Regions from separate parts of the Homo sapiens genome. Here all the other regions are linked to region 2. The links are contacts of gene promoters, found by promoter capture Hi-C in human tissues and cell types (Jung and others, 2019). All regions are on one chromosome and are shown on one strand. Each heading gives the region's core, a stretch centred on a gene start or on the middle of the fragment in contact. The rest is flanking DNA. Distances are from core to core; before and after follow the strand shown. Region 1 overlaps LINC02456 (long intergenic non-protein coding RNA 2456). Region 2 holds the start of NUP37 (nucleoporin 37). Region 3 has its middle 74 kb from the start of LINC00485.

The links. The method cuts DNA at HindIII sites, captures the fragments that hold promoters and counts their contacts. A contact is called where the count stands out against the background at its distance.
Region 1: a fragment that was not itself captured here is called in contact with the fragment with the promoter of NUP37 in region 2 in 1 of the 25 tissues and cell types used here (dorsolateral prefrontal cortex).
Region 3: a contact is called between a fragment that was not itself captured here and the fragment with the promoter of NUP37 in region 2, in 1 of the 25 tissues and cell types used here (lymphoblastoid cells).

Annotation. Positions count from the first base shown.
Region 1 is chr12:102,698,011-102,702,422 of GRCh38, reverse strand. All of the region lies in intron 12 of LINC02456 (long intergenic non-protein coding RNA 2456), which reads right to left. Among named protein-coding and RNA genes, the nearest start is that of LINC00485, 120 kb to the left of the region's middle. The HindIII fragment of the contact is 7,471 bases long and covers 1-4,412 here.
Region 2 is chr12:102,118,291-102,122,818 of GRCh38, reverse strand. It overlaps NUP37 (nucleoporin 37), which reads left to right and starts at 2,705. Exons shown (of 10, transcript NM_024057.4): 1 at 2,705-2,769; 2 at 4,236-4,456. The coding sequence starts at 4,301. PARPBP (PARP1 binding protein) reads right to left here and starts at 2,636. Exons shown (of 11, transcript NM_017915.5): 1 at 2,533-2,636. RefSeq lists enhancers at 1,233-1,790, 2,835-2,904. The HindIII fragment of the contact is 7,473 bases long and covers 421-4,528 here.
Region 3 is chr12:102,748,505-102,752,643 of GRCh38, reverse strand. No RefSeq gene overlaps it. Among named protein-coding and RNA genes, the nearest start is that of LINC00485, 74 kb to the left of the region's middle. The HindIII fragment of the contact is 3,013 bases long and covers 5-3,017 here.

The DNA.
Region 1 (4,412 bases), core at 1,088-3,587, 580 kb before region 2:
TATCTCCTGACAGAATTCAAACTGTACATGCTGAACAAAAGACTTATTTTTTCCACTCAACCTTGCTGTTTTGAATTTCCTTGAACTTACTTCAAAATAAAGTTTGGGAAGAAGAAAACATTGTCTGTGTCACAGAAATGGTCCAAGATGGCTGGAGGAATCTACCTACTGAAGAGGGCTCCAATCACCCAAGGTGAGATAGGATGACTGTTTAATACATGTGGCAATAAAAACAAATAAAACACATATACACCATAAAAAAAAAGCCTTCGAGGACTTGGGTTCTACCTGCCAAACACATTTTCCCTATTAAATAAAGGTTGAATTTTTGTCAACAACCAATTGTTTGACAATATTGGGTGTGTTTTGCTCTGAGCCAATGCATGCTCTAGACACAGGTTTTCTCTACACACGTTGTCAGACTTCTGAGTTGAGGGATAGGAGAGTTTCCAGAAAGCATCTCGTAAATGTAAGTCAATAATCTATAATCAAACTATGAGGATTGATTGGTCATTCACTATGTACTCAGATTTAATCCTGTGGGAGAAATAAACAAGTTATTGAGACATGGTCCATGTATCAAATAACCAAGTGATTTTTTTTGTTAGTTATTGAGGGTGTTTTTAAATATATATTTTTATTTAATTTGAAGATCCAACATTCAAGTAGCTGGCTGAGTTTAAAAAAAAAAAAAAAAGCTTTTCTTCTGGATGTGTAGGGTAATGAAAAAACTTGTGAAGGTCTAGAAGAGGCCCCTCTTAAAGTTCTATAGCCAATTATAGCACCTTCTGCTATTTGTCCTTCCCCAAATCCTCTCATGGGTGCAATGTAGGCAAAGAGGGTTGGGTGTTTAGAAAGAGTATAGGAGACTTTGTGCTTAGTGTCTCAAATGTCTCACTATTACAAAGCGTTGACCATTTTGGGTTTTGCTTATTTGTTTGTTTTTTTGTTTTAGAAGGAGTACAAATTTCATAATATCTTGTCCCAGGAGCTTCTGTGTAGATGACATTCAGATCTTTGTTTCCTATTTTCACTTAATTATTTCAATAAAAAGGCATAATCACTCTCAAAATGTTTTTTTAATTTTTATGGGTACATAATAGGTGTATATATTTATAGGGTACATGAGATGTTTTGATACAAGTGTGCAACACATAATAATTACATCATGGAAAATGGGGTATCTATCACTGCAAGCATTTATCCTTTGTGTTACAAAAAAATTCAATTATACTCCTTTGGTTATTTTTGAATGTACAATTAAATTATTATTGACTATAGTCACCCTGTTGTGCTATCAAATGCTAGATCTTATTCAATCTATATTTTGGACCCATTAACCATTCCCACCACCCCCTTAACAACCCACTTCCCTTCCCAGGACTTGGTAACCTTCCTTCTACTCTCTAACTCTGTTAGTTCAGTTGTTTTGATTTTTAGGTTCCACAAATGAGTGAGAACTTCTGACGTTTGTCTTTCTGTGCTTGGCTTATTTCACTTAACAGAATAGCCTCCAGTTCCATCCATGTTGTTGCAAATGACAGGATCTCATTCTTTTTATGGCTGAATAGTATGTAAGTATCACATTTCTTTATCCATTCATCTGTTGATGGACACGTAGGTTGCTTCCAAATCTTGGCTATTGTGAACAATGTTGCAACAAACACAGGAGTGCAAATATCTGTTTTACATACTAATTTCCTTTCTTTGAGGTATACACCCAGCAGTGGGATTGCTTGTACATATGGTATTTTTAGTTTTTTGAGGGACCTCCAAACTGTTCTCCATAGTGATTCTACCAATTTACATTCCCACCAACAGTGTATGAGGATTCCTTTTCTCCACATTCTTACTAGAATTTGTTATTGCCTGTCTTTTGGATTCAAGCCATTTTAACTGGGAAGAGATGATATCTCATTGTAGTTTTGATGAGCATTTCTCTGATAATCAATGATATTGAACACCTTTTTATATGCCTGTTTGCTATTTGTATGTCTTCTTTTGAGAAATATCTATTCAAATACTTTGCCCATTTTTTATCAGATTATTAGACTTTTTTCCTATAAATTGAGTTCCTTATATATTCTGGTTATTAATCCCTTGTCAGATGTAGAGTTTGCAAATGTTTTCTCCCATTCTTTTGGTTGTCTCTTCACTTTATTGACTGTTTCCTTTGCTGTGCAGAAGCAGTTTAACTTGGTGTGATTCCATTTGTCCATTTTTGCTTTGGTTGCCTGTGCTTGTAGGGCATTACTCAATAAATTTTTGCTCAGGCCAGTGCCCTAGAGAGTTTCTTCAATGTTTTCCTTTAGTAGTTTCATAGTTTGAGGTCATAGATTTAAATCTTTAATCCATCCTGATTTAATTTTTGTACATGGTGAGGGCTAGGGGTCTAGTTTCATTCTTCTGCATATGGATATCCAGTTTTCTCAGCACCATTTCTTGAAGAGCCTGTCTTTTCCCCAGTGTATGTTCTTTGCACCTTTGTTGAAATGAGTTCAGTAGGTGTGTGGCTTTGTTTCTCTATTCTGTTTCATTGGTCTCTGTGTCTGTTTTTATGTCAGTACCATACTATTTTTGTTACTATAACTCTGGAAGATAATTTGAAGTCAGGTAATGTAATTCCTCCAGTTTTGTTCTTTTTGCTTAGGATAGCTTAGGCTGTTCTGAGTCTTTTTTGGTTCCATATAAATTTTAGGATTTTTTTTTCTATTTCTATAAAGAATGTCATTGGTATTTTGATAGGAATTAATTGGTTTGGGTAGTATGAACATCTTCACAATAATCATTCTTCCAATCCATGAACATGGAGTATTTTTCCATTTTGGGGTTTCCTCTTCAATTTCTTTCATCAGTATTTTATAGTTTTCATTATAGAGATCTTTTCACTTTGGTTAAGTTGATTCCTAGGTATTTAATTTTATCTGTGCCTAATGTTAATGGGATACTTTTAAAATTTCTTTTCCAAGATTGTTCACTGTTGACATATAGAAATGCTACTAATTTTTGTATGTTGATTTTGTATCCTGCAACTTTACTAAATTTGTTTATCAGTTCTAATAGTTTTTTGTAGTCCCCACATTTCTCCAAATATAACATAATATCATCTGCAAACAAAGATAAATTGAGTTCTTCTTTTCTAATTTGGATGCCCTTTATTTATTTCTCGTCTGATTGTTCCAGCTAGGACTTCCAGTACTGTGTTGAATAACAGTGGTGAAACTGGGCATTCTTGTTGTGTTCCAGATCTTACAGGAAAGCCTTTCAGGTTTTCCCCACTCAGTATGATACTAGCTGTGGGTGTATCATATATGCCTTTTATTATGTTGAAGTATATTCCTTCTATACCTAATTTTTTTGAGGGTTTTTATCATGAAGGGAGGTTAATTGTATCAAATGCTTTTTCAGCATCAATTGAAATGATCATATGGTTTTTGTCCTTCATTCTATTGGTAAGATGTATCACACTGATTGATTTGCATATGTGGAACCATCCTTGCATCCCAGGGATAAATCCCACTTGGTCATAATGAATGATCTTTTTAATGTATTGTTGAATTAGTTTGCTGGTATTTTGTTGAGGATTTTTGTATCAATATTCATCATAGATACTGGCCTGCAGGTTTCTTTTTTTCGATGTGTCTTTGTCTGGTTTTGGCATCAGGGTAATACTGGCCTCACAGAATGAGTTTGGAAGTATTCCCTCCTTCTCTATTTTTTGGAATAGTTTGAGTAGGATTGGTATTAGTTCTTCTTTAAATGTTTGGTAGAATTCAGCAGTGAAGGCCTTGGGTCCTGGGCTTTTCTTTATGGGAGACTTTTCATTATGGCTTAGGTCTCATTACTTGTTATTGGTCTGTTCAGGTTTTTTTATTTCTTCATGGTTCAATGTTGGTAGGTTATATGTGTCTAGGAATCTGTCCATTTCTTCCAGATTTTCCAATTTGTTGGCACATAGTTGCTCATTGCTACTGATGATCCTTTGAGTTTCTGCAGTATTCATTGTAATGTCTCCTCTTTCATCTCTGAATTTATTTATCTGGATGTTCTCTCTTTTTTTCTTAATTAGTCTGGCTAAAGGTTTGTCAATTTTGTTTAACCTTTCAAAAACACAACTTTTTGTTTCATTGATCTTCTGTGTTGTTTCCATTTCAATTTTATTTGTTTCTGCTATGATCTTTACTATTTGTTTTATTCTAAACAACACAAGATTAGGTTTGGTTTACTCTTCCTTTTCTAGTTCCTTAAGATGAATTGTTAGTTTTTTTTTATTATTATTTGAAGTTTTTCTTCTTTTTTCATGTAGGCACTTATAGCTCTAAACTTCCCTCTTAGTACTGCTTTTGCTGTCTCCCATAGGTTTTTGTATGTTGTGTTTTGATTATTTGTTTCAAGGAATTTTTCAATTTCTT
Region 2 (4,528 bases), core at 1,456-3,955:
CAGGTCTGTTATTATCCTTATTTTACCTAATAACCTCCACGTCACTCAGCTTGTAAGTGGACAAACAGCATAAACTTAATATGTCTAACTCTATAAGCTGTGTTCTTAAAGCATCATGTTAAGTAACTTCTCCTGATGCACACAAAAGCCTTTCAAAATAATTTGAGGTAGTGCCAATGTTTCATATACCCAAGACTATATAAGGCATCCAATTCCTTTCTCTGAGTTTACAGACATGCCTGCTAAAAGTTTTTTTCCTACTTTAAGTACTCAAGTCTCAACATACTCACATGCCCATCATCTTATTTTGGGTATTTTCCTGTACTTATTCCATTTCCTGACTCCTTCTGCTATCCTTTTCTTCTATTTTTATGTGGCATAAACAGAATCCTAGATGTTTACTTTGGTTTGTATAATCAAGAGCAAAGATACATGCCACTTGCAATATAATTAAATTATAGACACAATCTATGATGCAACTTAAAGATACAGGTAGAAGATTAGAGATTAATTATTTACATAAATGCAAATCCTAGTAAATAGCTAAGAATTGTATTTCTCTTCAAAAAATCACCCTCATCTCTTGAAAGAAAAAAGAAAGTGAAGAACTGTCAGCTTCAGTGACATGGTCACTTTGCCTGAAATACATTTTTAGGAGTAAATTACTTACTGGTATTATTTAAAGGTAGTATTATGAGATTTGATTGCTATGAATGAAGACTCACTTGGGAATTAGGCCATTCTGAAATGTGGCTCCACCACTTACTGGCTGCGAGATCTTGGCCAAGTTACATCACCTTTCCCTGCCTCAGCTTCCTCATAATGAAAATGAAAACCCTATCCCATAGGGTTTTATGACAAGTCAACGACATAAACACAAGTAAAGCTTTTAGAACAGTGCCTGGCATGTATAAAAGCACATTAGCTATTATCATGCATTATGAGTTTCTAAGTTGTTTTGAGTTAAAAGTAAAAGAGCATTGCCTGGGCATGGTGGTTCACACTTGTAATCCCAGCACTTTGGGAAGCCGAGGCTCACCTAAGGTTAGGAGTTCGAGACCAACCTGGCCAACATGGTGAAACCCTGTCTACTAAAAATTAGCTGGGTGTGGTGGTGTGTGCCTCTAACCCCAGCTACTTGGGAGGCTGAGACAGGAGAATCGCTTGAACCAGGGAGGCGGAAGTTGCAGTGAGCCAAGATAGCACTACTGCACTCCAGCCTAGGTGACAGAGTGAGACTCTGTCTTAAAAAAAAAAAAAAAAAAAAAAAAAAGAGCATTACTATGGTGACAGAAAACCAAGAGTCTCATTCAGGGATCAGCTAATTTTTTCTAAAGGAACAAACAGTAAATATTTGAGGCATGCACAACTACTCACTTTGACCTTCTAGTGTGAAAATAGCCATGGACATACATAAACAAACAAATGAGTATAGCTGTGCTCCAATAAAACTTTTTTTATGGACACTGAAATTTGAATTTCATGTAATTTTTACACATCACAAAACATTATTCTTTTCATTTTTTCCCCCAACCATATAAACACGTAACACTCCTTCTTAGCTCAGGAGCTGGCTGCACAAAAACAGGCAGCACAGCCAGTTTGCCAACCCCTGGTCTAGTCCCAGCTCTTCCTGTAGCTAGCTGGCTGTGGGAGCCTATGCCATAAGCCTTACACGTGGTTCCTAGGTGGAGGCATCATCACACAGAAATACTTGCCTTCCAGTCCCTTGTGAGAAGTCAATGAGACAATAAATATGCAAGCACTCTGAATGGCAGGCTGCACTATACAAAAAAACAGTAGCCAAAGGCAGCAGCGATAACACTTGTTTTTAAAAAATTGGATTCCAAGTTGCTCTAGAGCAAAAACTGTGAGACAGAAAATTGTCACTGGGCAGGCAGTGTGAAATGGTTGAAAGAACTACACTTCCGAGTCAGATATCACTTCCAGGCTCCCCCTTTATGACCTGTAGTCCTTCGGTATTTAAAATCTCTAATGAGCATAAGTTTCTTCACCTGCAAAACCAGGAAGGGAATTCCTACCTCACAGAATGAGACGTTAGTGAAACAAGTACATAACCCACCTAGTGCCAGGCATTTAGTAGGTGCTCAATTTAAAAATTGCACTCAACATCATTATCAGTGTTCGAGTGCAAGTCCCAAAGGTTCCTTGGGAGGCTGTAACTAATCAGGAGTAGGAGAAAGTTGAGGAATTGGAGTCCGTGTACATAGTGGGACTAGAACCCAGGTTTCCTGCCTAACTAATGGAAGTTAAGCAGGCCTCTACGGGCCTGTCTTCCAAGCTGCAGACGAACCCTCAGGACCTACCAGCTCCATCGCTAGATACTGTGAACTCCGCCTACAGCCCCCAGGCCCAACCAGGCTCGAGCGTCAAGTCACTGCACCATAATACTTCGGTCCCACGGCACTTTGCTACGACCGAGGTATTACAGTGCAAAACACCCTCAAAAGCCACAGCCTGAATCACCACTTAAAAATGCGACAGGGCAGGTAGGGCAGACGCGAGACTTACGTGATTAGGGGTAGACCCGAAGACGTACTCTTCAGTGTGCGGAAGGATCCCCAACGGGATGCCCTCCCGCGGCCGCCGCAGTCGCCGCTGTCGCCGCTGAATACAGTTCAAACCTCGCGGGAGGCCCCGGGAGCCAATCGCTGCGCTCGCCCTCCGACCCGGAAGCAGAGCCACAGCGCGTCGCGGCAGCCCCCAAGGAAGACCAGCCTGCCTCTGGTCGGTTCCTGGCGCTCTGCGGTGCGTATCGAGCTGGGAGCCCGAGAGGCCGGGATGCTTTTCTGCCGGCCGCCCAGCCTTGCCACTCTATTCCCAGGAGTTCTTCCTTCCCACTTCGGGCCCCGGGAGGTGGGAGCGGGGTCTTGAGGAACTCGCCTGGCCCGGGGAGAGGTGTCGGCGCTCATTGCAGAGACTTATCTTGTTCCCTCCCTTCTTCTCTGCCGTTGTAGTTTTACAGGGGCAAGTCCTGTCCAACGTGTACGGTGAGGCCCCGGCCACTGCTTTAATGAGCAGTAGGTGTAGGGACGGAACAATTTCGTGACCTCGAATCTCTTGCACTTCTATACCTCTCTGTCTCCGTGTCCATAACACTTGCTGGTCACCCTTCAAAAGTCTCCAGTCCCTGATGTCCATTCCTAAAGTTACTAGTTTATAAGCGTCTCGAGGTGGGACTCATTCTCAGTACATACTCTTAAGGTGCTTGATATGTTTGTTACTGAGTCCAGCTGTTTTCAGGACAACCCTTGTGTCGAATTTTTTAAAAAACCAAAAACTCTAAAACCCATAATTCTCATGTGGGAATGCTACTTCCAGAATGCACACTAGTCCCTGACAGGTTAAGGTCTTCTGCCTAGTTTTAAGAATATTATTATTTTAATTTTTAAGTTCCGGGATACGTGTGCGGGACGTGCAGGTTTATTACAAAGGTAAAACGTGTGCTATGGTGGTTTGCACACCCATCACCTAGGTATTAAGCTCCACATGCATTAGCTATTTATCCTGATGCTCTCCCTCCGCCCAACCCCCTGAACATTATTTTTATATCACACATTTTGGTACTCCTTAACAACAGATCCTGTATTTTCTATCTGTTTATATTATAGCCCTTTTCACGTTGAGTCATAACTATCCCTAAACTGTGGTCTCCTTCAAGCCAGGAGGCTGTTTTTTTCTTCATTAGCGCTGGTTCTCCACACACAATGAAGTCTTCCAAATCCTGGCCCTGCTTATGAGCTTGGCAAGTTAGTTAACCTACTGAAGCCTCAGTTTCTCCATCTACAAAATGGAGACCAGAGGTAGTACCTGCCTTTAGATTTGTACAGATACCAGATGTGATCATGTCAGTAAAATGCTTAATATGGTACCTACAAATAGTGGTTCATAAAAGTTATTAATTTTTATTAACATTTGCTGTTAAAATGATTCCATCTTCAGATGAAATACTATTTGTTTTAGATAATCTAAACAGAACTTTGCAGTGTTATTGTCTGCTAGAATCACAGATATGGGAAAGAGCTGTGGAGCAAATGTGGAACCATTAATAACTAGATTTAATATTTTTCCTGCAGTTTCTGTCCCTTGATAAGTACTTTAAATGTTTCTTTTGAGCTTTCTGTCTCATTGTAACACCACAACCTTATTTTGATGCATTTGCTGAATGACTAACATATTGACCATTGTAATTGTACCTGTGCTCTAATCCACAGTTTCGTGACCTTGTCCAGTAGAAGGCTATTTAATTTTCACAACTGCTTGAATTTTGACATACAAGATGAAGCAAGATGCCTCAAGAAATGCTGCCTACACTGTGGATTGTGAAGATTATGTGCATGTGGTAGAATTTAATCCCTTTGAGAATGGGGATTCAGGAAACCTAATTGCATATGGTGGCAATAATTATGTGGTCATTGGCACGTGTACGTTTCAGGTTAGTCTACAAAACTGCACCGAATGACAGTGAACATATTTCACTACTAAGAGAACTTACACAAACCAAATC
Region 3 (4,139 bases), core at 262-2,761, 630 kb before region 2:
GTTTATGTGCCCCACCACCACCCAGCACTCTTCCCACCGTCTTTTGCCCTTTTAGAACTCTCTCATTCTGCAGGGCTGAGCTCCATCCCCTAACCAGGCCCCCTGCAACCTCCCGACCCCTACCAGCCAAGCCTTCTTTGATTACATCACCCCTCATTTATTGCCTGCTCTTTGCAATTTCTATAGCACTTTCAGTGTTTTTCAGACTTTTCTGAAGTACTTGTAAAATTACAAATTACTAGGCCCCATCCCGGGAGAGAGTCCTTGGAAGTGTTTTGGTTTACAAATACGCCAGGTGATTGTGATCATTGGGGATATCTGATGAATATCCAATGCCACAGAATTTAAGAGAAATAGATAAAAGTAGTCCCAAATTATGACCACCCCAGTTAAGAACTGGGTTCTTAATATGACTGGTTACTTACTCAGTTCCACCAAATATCCTCCTCCTGCCACTCTCACACCTTCCCTAGACCTAGCCCCAAGAACTGCAGAAGATGCAGATCCTAGAGACTTCACCTATGAACCAACCCATTGGAAAGTAAATAATGCAGCCTTGCTACTCAAAGTGTGGTCCCTGGACCGCAGCATCAGTACCACCTGGAAACTTGCTAAAAAGGCAGAACCTCGGGTCCATTCCAGATTTACTGAACCAGCATCTGAAGTTCATCAAGATCTCCAGGTGATTAATATCTATATTAACATTTGAGAAGCACTACTTTATTATGTGTTTGCAGAGAACTACTAGATGGTCTGGGGATCCCTGAGCAACATAGAAATGGCATGAGCTTTGGAATCAGACAGTCATTAGTTTGAATCTCAGTTGTGTGGCTGGCATGAGCTTCGGAATAAAATGGTCTTTAGTTTGAGTCCCAGCTGTGTGGCTGACAGGAAAGTTACTTAATTTCCATATCATCAAAAGTCATCGGCAAAATGGGGCTAATAATTTCTACCACATGGGGATGTCTTAAAAGTTAATGAGGTAACCTAAGTAAAGTACCTGCTTCACAATAGGTGCTCACTCACTGATGGCAATTTGCTTTACATAGTGCCTGGCACACGACAAGTGCTCAAAATGCTATTACAGCTGCTGGTCTCAGAGGAGGTGGTCTAGATATTATTGTTATTATTACTATTATTTTATTTTGAGACGGAGTCTTGCTATGTCACCCAGGCTGGAGTACAGCGGCATGATCTCAGCTCACTACAGCTCCCAGGTTCAAGTGACTCTCCTGCCTCAGCCTCCGGAGTAGCTGGGATTACAGGCACCGGCCACCACACCCAGCTAATTTTTTTTATTTTTATTTTTAGGAAAGACAGGGTTTTGCCATGTTGGCCAGGCTGGTCTTGAACTCCTGACCTCAAGCAATCCACCTGTCTCACCCTCCCAAAGTGCTGGGATTACAGGCATGAACCACTGCATGGCCGATAATATCATTATTATTAACCTGAAAGTGTTTACAATCTAGGAACAAAGTAAACACATAAAAAGTTGAAAAAAGATTATTATTACAAGAGACTCCATCCCCAAGTTGCAGGTCCTATAAGAATTAGGATTCTAAGAAAGTAAGCATTAAATATATTTCAGAGCAGAGCAACTAACATATCTAAGCCTTTAGTTTATGGTACGCATAGATTTAACTATCTTATTCCATACACCCAACTATAAATTAGACAGGTACTATTATGATTGCTCCCATTTTACCACTGAAACAATTGAACTTCACAAGGTTAAGTAACTTGTCCAAAGTCACTTGAATATTAAGTGGTGAAGCCAAGTCTCCAGAACACAGACCTTTTTTTTTTTTTTTTTTTTTTTTTTTTTTTTGTGGACAAGTTCTCACTCTGATGCCCAGGCTGGAGTGCAGTGGTGCCATCATGCTCACTGCAGCCTCAACTTCCTGGGCTCAGGTGATTCTCCTAACTCAGCCTTTGAGTAGCTGGGACTACAGGCACATGCCACCATGCTGGGCTAATTTTTGTATTTTTTTATAGAGGTGAGATCTCACTATGTTGCCCAGGCTGGTCTCAAACTCCTGGGCTTAAGTGATCCTCCTGCCTCAGCCTCCCAAAGTGCTGGGATCATAGGCATGAGCCACCGTGCCTGGCCAAAACACAAACTTGTAATGCTGAACAATTTTCTTCAAGTGATTCTTCAAAAGTGAGAGAAGCCACTATAGCTGGAGTGAGTTAGGAGACTTCTCTGAGGAGACTAGGATTCATCAGAGCAGTACAGACTGTATAGAATTTGACAGAGAGGTATTCAAGAGAGATACATTCTTATAACACTGGCAACATCTTGGATACAAGATTATGTCATAGTTCACAAAGTGCATTCACAAACTTTCATTCAGGGCTACGAAGATAGAATATAAATCATCCCTGTCTTGATGATCTTAACATCTATAGCTTTTAATTTATTCTTCAGCTACCAAAGGAGCTTGGTATTAGCTTCATTATGCAGATAAGAAAAAGAGAAGTTTAAGTGGCTCATGTATGATAATAGCAATAATAGGTGATGATCCTGGAAGCTGAACTCAGATCTCCAGAATCTAAGTCTAAGGTAATTTTATTATTTGCCCCTTTAGGAAAAGAGATAGATGCTAGGATAACCAACCGTCATGGTTTTTTCAGAATAGAAGATTTTCTCAGGATGCAGGACTTACAGGAAAGTCCTGGGTAAACCACGGCAAGCTGTCCACCCCAATGGAAGCTTAAGCCCCAAATGCATGCTTGAGAAACAACCCCTTTGGTTGAACCAAAGTGTTTATTGTGCTAAGGTAGAAATGCTGCTGTCACCAGTAAAAGATCCAGTACTCCACACTGTGTCCATTACCTACTCACTTCTTAGTTCTCAGCAATGCAGTGGCTACAGAACAGGCCTTCCTTCTTTGAGCACAGACTGCACTCCAAATTTTTATCTCTGTACTTACTTCTTCCCTCAGAACTTGCTGCTGCTATTGTGTGTGTGTGTGTGTGTGTGTGTGTGTGTGTGTGTGTGTATGTGTGTGTGTGTGTGTTGTGGTGTAGACCAGTGCTTCTCAACCTTTAATGTACATACAAATCATGTGGGGATCTTGTTAAAAAGCAGATTCTGATTCATTAGGGTTGAGTTAAAGTCCAAGACTCTGCATTTCCAATAAGCTCTCTGATGTGAAGGTTGCTGGCCATGGACTACACTTTGTAGAAGAAAGAACACCCGTTTTTGCAAAAGGAAACAGGAGCCCTTAGCCTTAAACAGCATTTAAATTGGTTGAATCCAAATAAATAGTTGATTTCCCTCTACCCTGAGACCTTCCCCTGGTGTCTGACAAGTACAAGCTTGCTCTCAAATAATCTGGATTAAAACCTACCACTGGCTAACTGGGTTACCTTAGGCAAATTATCTAATTTCTCTAAGATTCAGGTTCCCCACTGGTCAGGTCAGGTTGTTATTCTACTCACAGTCTTATTGTGAAGAATAAAGATAATGGCTACTGAGTATACACCACATTCCCAAATAAACACACATTATCTTTATTCTTCACGAAAAGACTGTGATCCGTTGATATGGTTTGGCTGTGTCCCCACCAAAATGTCACCTTGAATTGTAATAACTCCCATGTGTCAAGGATGGGGCCAGGTGGAGGTAATCGAATCATGGGGACAGTTTCCCTCATACTTTTCTTGTGGTAGTGAAAAAGTCTCATGAGACCTGATGCTTTTACAAATGGGAGTTCCCCTACACAAGTCCTCCTGCCTGCTGCCATGTAAGGCATGACTTTGCTACTCATTCACCTTCCACCATGATTGTGAGGCCTCCCAGCCATGTGGAACCATGAGTCAATTAAACATCTTTCCGTTGTAAATTACCCAGTCTCAGGTGTGTCTTTATTAACAGTGTGAGAACAGACTAACACATTCATGTTACTGTTAAAAGTTTCCCTTGCTGGAATGCTTATACACTGCTGGTGGGAAAGTAAATTAGGTCAGTCAATGTGGAAAGCAGTGTAGTGATTACTTGAAGAACTTAAAACAGAATTACCATTCTAACCAGAAATCCCATTATTGGGTGGATACCCAAAGGAATACAAATCATTCTAACATAAAAACACATGCATATGTATGTACATTGCAGCACTATTCAGTATAGTAAAGAC